Linked DNA regions of Homo sapiens: regions 2 and 3 are each linked to region 1. Evidence: promoter capture Hi-C in 16 types of primary human blood cells and fetal thymus (Javierre and others, 2016). All regions are on one chromosome and are shown on one strand. The core of a region is centred on a gene start or on the middle of the fragment in contact, and the rest is flanking DNA. Distances in the headings are between cores, read along the strand shown. Region 1 holds the start of DISC1 (DISC1 scaffold protein). Region 2 overlaps EGLN1 (egl-9 family hypoxia inducible factor 1). Region 3 overlaps EGLN1 (egl-9 family hypoxia inducible factor 1).

Region 1 (2,874 bases), core at 68-2,567:
ACTAGGCTTAATACCTGGGTGACAAAATACTCTGTACAACAAACACCCATGACACAAGTTTACCTATGTAACAAACTGAACTTAAAAGTTAAAAAAAAAAAAGAGGTTCTTATTATGTTGCCCAGGCTGATCTCAAACTTCTGGACTCAAGTGAACTTCCACCTTGGCCTCCCAAAGTGCCTGGCCTTAGATATTCATACATTTATTTATTTTTAGAGATGTGGTGGGGGTGTGGGGGGTCTCTCTCTGTCACCTGGGCTGGAGTGCAGTGGCCCCATCATAGCTCACTGAAGCCTTGAACTCCTGGACTCAAGCAATCCTCCCACCTAAGCCTGCCGAGTAGCTGGGACTACAGGAGTGCACTACCATGCCGGGCAAACACACTGATTTTAAGTACAACTGTGTGCTTTCAGTCTTAAGATCTTCAGCTTTTGAAGGACCTCAGCCTTCCTCTAGTTCTAACTCCTCTCGTTCTAAGGAGATCCTTCCCATTCCTGCAGAACGTCTCCCCAACCCTTCTTCTTCACAGTTCTCCCTCCTATCCCTGAACCATTGCAAGAGGTTTTGTGCCAAGCCTCTGGCACATGGCACATTCTATCTCATGTTGTGATTTCGTTTTCTATGCACGTGCTCTCCTTCTAGCCTGGAGGTGAGCTGCTTAAGGGCAAAGAGCTCATGTGTAGCCCTTCCTTGTACCCATTGTCCTATAGCAGGTGCTACCTAGGGGGTGCTCCAGTAGCTTCCTTGAATGAACCAAAGAGAAGGGGTGAAGGGGGGAGTCAGTTGCCTAGGAGCTTGCATGGACTTCTGTGTCCTGGAACCAGCCCGGAGCTGCTGGAAGATGCTAGAAGTTGGAATCCTATCTCATTTCTAAACATCTGCTCCCACTCATCTCTTTCCAGGGTCATCAGTTATCCCCACTCCTCCCCCCCGCCCCCACTTTGTATAAATGAGCCCCTCACATCCCTCCATCTTCTCCATCACTGTGTGGTCACTTCTTAAATCATGCGTCTGGAAGGCGCCCTCCTGTACCCCATCCTGGAGGCTTCCTGCACTTCCCCTCTTGTTTCTTCCAGAAATGAGTCAGAGTGAAAGCAAACTTTCTGAGGTCCTGAGATCCCGGAGACAGGCTGTGAGGGCCGCTGGCCCCGCCCGCTCCAGCAGCGTGTGTGTGTATGTCTGTGTGTGTGTGTGTGCGCGCGCGCGCGCGCGTCAGGGGCCAATGCTGGAAAGGAAACAGCGGACTCGCTGAGGAGAAGAAAGGAGCCGCCCCCTTCGTCGCCAGCCCCCTCCCCACTTCCCGTCCAGCGCGCTGCTCCCTTCCCCCCGCCTCTGGCCTCGGGGAAGGAGCAGGAGGCAGCCCAGGCGGAGCGGGAGGAGCTGGCAGCGGGGCGCATGCCAGGCGGGGGTCCTCAGGGCGCCCCAGCCGCCGCCGGCGGCGGCGGCGTGAGCCACCGCGCAGGTAGGGGAGCTGCCACAGAGTCCTAGCACGTCCTGGGGGGGTCCTGGCAAGGAGGGCGCGCTCTGGCCCCCAGGAAGTCGCGTAGGTCAGGGCGTGCCTCTGTTAACAACCCCTTTCGAGGTGAGGGAAACTGAGGCAGGACGCGAGGCGTGCGAGGTTGAGAGAAGAGCGAGTCTTGGGCTGCCAGCCCGGCACCAGCGCCGAGCCGGGCCAGGTCCCTGACCCAGGACTGTGCAGCGATCCCCGGGACCCGCAGTTTGCGAAACTGTAGGAGTCTGACCCGCGCCCCCGCTGCGTGTCCAGGTGACCGGGAAAGGTTGCAGAGGCGTGCTTGGGGTTTGGATCCGTCCCCGTCCTGGGACACCTGCGCCGCCTGCACTCTCGTTGCGGTGCGCCCCAGCCTGCGCCCCCTCGGGACAGGGGACGTCCCGCCCGCCTTAACCCCAAGACCCAGCTGGATCTCGGGTTCCACCCCTTCGGGGACCTGGAGGGAGGAGGCTGGGAGCGGGACCAGGAACTGGTGCCTGTGCCTTCCCTAGGGGCTGCTCTGAAATCAGTGTCACCGCCCACTTCCTACTTGGCTACAGTAACGGGGATGGCCCAAGCCGGAGACTGCTCGGTTTCCACCGCCTGGAGCGCGGGTCTCGCTGTCAACTCTTAGTGATGATTGTGGATGGTTGTTTTTCAACAATGACAGGACTTCTACCTTCTCACTCTTAAAATGTGAGGTTTTCCAAAGACAGTGAGATTTGGAGTTAGGGAGTGCTGCCTTGTGTTCTTGCTGGGTGAGGACAGGGCTGGGTCAGTCGCTTAACCTCTCAGAGCCTCAGTCTCCTGAAATGTAAAGGAGAACACTCATAGCCTGGCCTCCATGTGTCGTTAGGTTTGTTGTATGGGAAATCAATTTGCAAAGTGTTATCATCAACTGGACAAATTTGAATTGGACAGCACTAGGACCATAGGAACTGGGGTTTGGAGACAGTCTGCCTGCATGTCAATCCTGGACATGCAGGAGACTATGACAGTACCTGCTTCATAGGGTTGTTATGCGGTTTAACTGTGATGGTGGAAGTGAAGCACCTCGCCCAATGCCTGAAATACCCAGTGCACTCTCAAAAAACCTTAGTTGCTATTTTTCCTAGGCAAAATCTAAATAATTGGGAGTAATGTGAGAATACCAGTTTGATTTGATTAATGCAGGAATAGTAGGGCATTTAAAAACACATGTAGTTCTCCTGTGCTCGGCATGGTACATGAAGTCCTCTGAGGTTCAGTTCTGTGCCACAGAGCAAAAAGAACCGTGGACAAGATACCCGCTTTTCGGGCTCTTTGACTTTGAGCCTGTTTTCTCATCTGTTTACAAAAAAGATAAAAGAAAAATGGGGGTAGTAATTACTGCCTTTTGTACTGAT
Region 2 (2,851 bases), core at 191-2,690, 220 kb before region 1:
CAGCCTCTTTCCCATGACATGTAAGATTTTTACAGGCTGGGTGCAGTGGCTCATGCTTGCTATCCCAGAACTTTCAGAGGCCAAGGGAGGTGGATCACCTGAGGTTGGGAGTTCAAGACCAGCCTGGCTAACATGGCGAAACCCTGTCTCTACTAAAAATACAAAAATTAGCCAGGCCCAGTGGTGCGTGCCTGTACTTGGCACTCAGCTACTTGGGAGGCTGAGGCAGGAGAATCGCTTGAACCTGGGAAGAGGTGGAGGTTGCAGTGAGCCACTGCACTCCAGCATGGTCAACAGAGCCAGACTCCATCTCAAAAAAAAAAAAAAAAAAAAAAAAAGATTTTTACAGTTAAAATATATATGCAATTCCCAAACTGAAAAGATAACACTACAAGTATTTAAGCTATATTGTTATTAAATTATTCAAAGTATTGTATAATTCAAAGTGTTTACATTTCTACATACCTAGATATTATATATTTCTATAAGAAAAACATAGGTATGAATACATGTTGTTTAACTTCATTTCCTCAATTCCTTATTTTCAAACAATAAGCTTTACTATCTTTGTAAATAACTAATTTTATACAATGTCAACACTAAAAAAGCTACTCCCTATTATAATACATACAGCAGTTCACATCTTAATGGTTTCAAGTTTTGACTGTTAAAAATGTTAAGAATAATTAATTTTAGAAAAAAGTGTGGAACCTACATGAAATTTCTTAAGGACAACACAGGCTGCTTAAAATACACTTTTTACTACGAGCACAATTACTACATGAGCCAAATTTGACAGCACAGACACCAAAGTAATTCTACATATTTTATAATGGCCACTTAAAAGACATTATTAAGGGTAAATAAGCCATAAATACCCCCCATTATTTTAGGAGGAAAATAAATAACTTTTATTATTTTGTTTTTACTGCTACCTATTAAGTTATAGACTATACAGTAAATAAAAGAAATACTAAGCAATATCAACAAACTGTAAAACAAATCAAATATGGGCTTACGTCAGTAAGACCTGTAAAATAAGGCCAGGCACAGTGGCTCATGCCTGTAATCCCAGCTATTCAGGAGGGTGAGGCAGGAGGATTGCTTGAGGTCATGAGTTCAAGACCATCCTGGGCAACATAGCAAGACCCCGTCTCTAAAAAAAAAATTTTTTTTTAAAGAATAAACTCATTTGTGTGTGAGATTTGATCCAATCATTCTAGCTTACCTGCATCCATCACTAGTTTTTAAAATTAATTAACATCTAAGGGTTTCAATTTTTTTAATATAGCTTAAATAATTAAATTCATGATTATAAATAAAATATTGCCACTTGACTTCAATCTGCTAACGGAGAAGGCATGAGGAGAGAAAGATTTTTTAATCAAGGTGTTCCTCAGCTGGAGTTATTTCATTACCCATTAAGTAACACAACTATCTGAAATTCAGTTCAAGATGCCCTTATCAACTGAACACTATTTCCTTTCTCACAGTGCCAAATCTATGTGCCAACTGCCTAAGCAACAATAGATTCGCTTTAATTAAAAATAAGGTTCTGACATCCCAGTAAAACCAAGTCAAGAATTCTGAATCTAAAATTGAATCTGAACTTCTGATGACAATGTTAACCAACACCAAGAACAGAGTTAAGGGCAACTAAGACCAAGTCCTAATCTGAAAAGGCACTGCTGAGAAATAAAACTACTTTTTATTTTATTTATATTTATTATTTTTTTGAGACGGAGTCTTGTTCTGTCGCCCAGGCTGGAGTGCGGTGGCGCTATCTGGCCTCACTGCAAGCTCCGCCTCCCGGGTTCACGCCATTCTCCTGCCTCAGTCTCCTGAGTAGCTGGGACTACAGGCTACAGGTGCCCGCCACCATGCCCGGCTTTTTTTGTATTTTTAGTAGAGACAGGGTTTTACCATGTTAGCCAGGATGGTCTCGATCTCCTGACCTCGTGATCCGCCCACCTCAGCCTCCCAAAGCGCTGGGATTACAGGTGTGAGCCACCATGCCCAGCCAATATAACTACTTTTTTAAAAAGTCTTTTACAAATAATCATCTACTCAACAACTCTTCTGTTAATTAGGTCAGCATTACTCCCATTTCATAGATGGAGAGACTGGCAGAGTTGTTGAGTGCCTTGCTCAGTAGTAGAGAGCCAGATGACAAGAATCCAAGGCAATACTAGCAGGTCCTATTCCCATTCCTGGCTTCTGTCCACAAACATCTTCCCCACCCCACACTACTGTTCTCCCTTTCCCCAGACAATTCTAAGAGGAAGAAACACCAAGAATCTCTAGAGTAGGCACACATTAAAGAAAAAGCTTACAGCTACTATGCAACATCAAAGCATAGTTCCTGAAAATTGTCAATACGAACAAATTATTCTTCCATATTCTGCAGATACTTTCTACCAAAACTATCCAGAGATGTTTCAGATCTAACCATTATAGAAACTATTTTAATATAAAAAAACTAGTATGAATTCTAGTTTCATTTTAGTTAGTAAGCACCCCCCACCCCCCACCCCCACCCAATTCCCCAGCCGCGGAGCACTACTATTACTAAGGCTTTTTTTTTTTTTTTTTTTAATTCAGGTAGGCTGAGGCAGGAGAATGGCATGAACCCGGGAGGCGGAACTTGCAGTGAGCCAAGATTGCACCACTGCAGTCCAGCCTGGGCGACAGAGCCAGAGAGACTCCGTCTCAAAAAAAAAAAAAATTTCAGGTTAATACTACTGAAATGCCAGTTACAAGGAAAAACAAAAATGCAAAACAAACGAGAACAGAGGCAGTGGGAGCAGGGGACAGGACAGGGTTAAAAGGACAAGAGGAAAAAGAGAATCAT
Region 3 (2,802 bases), core at 181-2,680, 250 kb before region 1:
GAAATGTAAATTTAGGAGCCATCTTCGCATGGGATAGCTGAAGCCGTGTGCCTGCCACAGATTGCCAAGGGAGTACAGAGAGAAGAGAACAGAGAACAGATTGTCATGAAATAAAGTCATTTAGAATAAGAACTCCTTGAATGGCGTGAACCCGGGAGGCGGAGCTTGCAGTGAGCGGAGATCGCGCCACTGCACTCAAGCCTGGGCGACAGAGCGAGACTCCGTCTCAAAAAAAAAAAAAAAAAAAAGAATAAGAACTCCTTAAGCCTTGCTGCTTTCTTGATCACAGTAAACAACTCAGTGGTCAAAAGCTGACTTATTATAAATGATTTCTGACTAATTTTTTGACTAATTCATTTCTAAGTGTAAATGATAGGTATATATATATTTTAAAAAGACATATAAGGGCATATAGTTTCCTTAAAAATTAGAAAAATGCTATTATAATAATATTGTGATCAACAATAGTTTTGGAGCTTAATCTTTGTAAATCCTTGATATTTTCCTAAAATTAAATTACTATAAGTGAAATTATTAGGTCTTAAAGCTTTCTGATTGCTGAAATGTTCTCCAGAATTATTGCATGAGCTTATATTCCTACTGGCTTTGTATGAGTGCACACATCTTTTTAACCATTTGCCAACCCAGCATAGTAAGTTTTAATCTTTGAAAACAGCTCAATTTGATAGGTAACATTTATCTTACTAATGTTTTAATTACATCTTATATTTTTAAGTCAGCATTTTTCATATTTTATTGGCCATTTAATTCTTCAACTGCTTGCTCATATCCTTTATCCACTTTTCTACTGGGTTAATCTTTTCCCTACTGAGTTATTATTATTATTTTAGAGACAGGGTCTCACTCTGTCACCCAGGCTGGAGTGCAGTGGCGTGATCATGGTTCACTGCAACTTTGAACATCTGGGATCAAGCAATCCTCCCAAGTAGCTGGGAGTACAGGTACACGCTACCACACCTGGCTAATTTTTTAATGTTTTCTAGAGATGGGCTCTCACTACGTTGTTCAGGCTGGTCTTGAACTTCTGGTCTCAAGTGATCCTCCCACTCTGGCCTCACAAAGTACTGGGATTACAGGTGTGAGCCACCACACCTGGCCCCCTACTGATTTTTAAGAGCTCTTTGGTTGTTAACCGCTGTCATATGACACAACAACAATTTCAACCTTTTTACTCTGCTTGTGTGGAAGAGTATGTTAATACAAAGTTTTTATTATCGGTACAGGAAGGCAGAATATAATTATATTAATTATCAATGTAAAGTTTTTAAAAATCCAAGATTCTTCCCATGTTCATAGAAATATGAAAAATACAGAAAAACAATGAAAGATTATTGAAGAAGAAATAGCATTGATCCAAATCACTCTCCAAGTGGCCCAAGAATTATGAATTGTTTAATAATCTAACACCAAACTACTTTCCTTATTAGGCTCTAATTCTAGCCCATGATTAAAAAAACTTAAATATACACTTAAAAATCAACTTAAGTATGATGCTCCCGACAGTATAATCTAGAGATATGTCATGATGCCTTAGTACTCTCTGAGCTTTCATTTCCCTTTTAGTGAAGAATTGATAAAGTTATGCTTTACAAATAAGAAATTCATCTGGTGAAACACATTATATTTTGAGCTGTCTAGCTCTGCTGTCAGAACAGAGATCTACAATTTGTTAACCTCAGCTATAATCTTACCAGCACTGCACAACTCTTTCTTAGATTCCCAAGCAGGGCTCTGTATTTATATCACACACACCACTCCCACTGCAAACTTCATGAGGAAGACAGAGCAACCTCTCTCCACAAGGAGACTGGGGATCCTGAGCAGGTCTCAGCTTGATCCCCACCCAGGGAATTATACAACCTCATTCTAGCCCATGCAAGGAAGTATCACTGTTAAGACAGATATTCTGACAGCTATGGCAAACTTGCTATATTATTAATATAATTCGTTGGAAGAGTCTGCAATTCGGCATTAAAAACAAAAATACAAACAGAACAAAACACTTAGCTGCTTGACATTACAAACATACATTCTGGCACTTCTTGAGGCTCACTGAGCAGGTACTGCACTAGGCATGAGGATACAGAGATTAAAAGTAAAACATCTGTTTCAATTCCAGGGTCTAGAAGAGTTACGATTTAAATTCCTTAAGTTATTTTGGCACAAACAGTGTAATTATTATTTGTTTTAATGGACTAGAGGACATGAGTGAGAGGTTCCTGACATTCATCCTGGAGCACTTAGTTAACATGCAAGCCCAAGACTGGATATAAATAATCATCAGTAAATGAGGAAAGCTTGTAATCAAAAACCCTACTCCAGTGAGACAACTCAAGAAGCCTTATCTCATCTCAAAGCCAGAGAATTTAGTAATTAACATAGTGGATATTAGAAATTATGACAGTATTAGAGAAGAATGGTACTCAAGAAAGGTGTTATGGCTACACACTGTATAGGGACCACTGCTCTTACATGAACATATACATGAATCTAGTTAATCTAATGGCCTACTATTAGGGACTGTACCCTGAGCCTTATGACTCCTGCTGGTTCTGTTAGTTCCCCATAAAGGAATTCTGTTATTTGATTCCAATTAGGTTCAGCTGAATCCTAAAAGCACACTAGCATTTTTGCCTTAAATAAACCTTCCATAAAAGGTGCTTGGCAGGCCGGGCATGGTGGCTCAAGCCGGTAATCCCAGCACCTTGGGAGGCCGAGGCAGGTGGATCATCTGAGGTCAGAAGTTTGAGACCAGCCTGGCCAACATGGTGAAACCCCATC

Evidence for each region. Contacts are between HindIII fragments. The CHiCAGO score rates a contact against its expected background, and 5 or more counts as called.
Region 2: a contact is called between a fragment that was not itself captured here and the fragment with the promoter of DISC1 in region 1, in 1 of 17 cell types (neutrophils). The highest score is 5.5, in neutrophils.
Region 3: a contact is called between a fragment that was not itself captured here and the fragment with the promoter of DISC1 in region 1, in 6 of 17 cell types (activated CD4 T cells, non-activated CD4 T cells, monocytes and 3 more). The highest score is 7.4, in activated CD4 T cells.

What each region holds. Positions count from the first base shown.
Region 1 is chr1:231,625,473-231,628,346 of GRCh38, forward strand. DISC1 (DISC1 scaffold protein) reads left to right here and starts at 1,318. Exons shown (of 13, transcript NM_018662.3): 1 at 1,318-1,462. The coding sequence starts at 1,396. All of the region lies in intron 5 of TSNAX-DISC1 (TSNAX-DISC1 readthrough (NMD candidate)), which reads left to right. RefSeq lists silencers at 1,214-1,473, 1,804-1,863, 2,837-2,874. The HindIII fragment of the contact is 7,020 bases long and covers 1-2,874 here.
Region 2 is chr1:231,403,455-231,406,305 of GRCh38, forward strand. The region is part of intron 1 of EGLN1 (egl-9 family hypoxia inducible factor 1); the gene reads right to left. Among named protein-coding and RNA genes, the nearest start is that of EGLN1, 17 kb to the right of the region's middle. The HindIII fragment of the contact is 1,772 bases long and covers 555-2,326 here.
Region 3 is chr1:231,380,088-231,382,889 of GRCh38, forward strand. The region is part of intron 1 of EGLN1 (egl-9 family hypoxia inducible factor 1); the gene reads right to left. Among named protein-coding and RNA genes, the nearest start is that of EGLN1, 41 kb to the right of the region's middle. The HindIII fragment of the contact is 1,771 bases long and covers 546-2,316 here.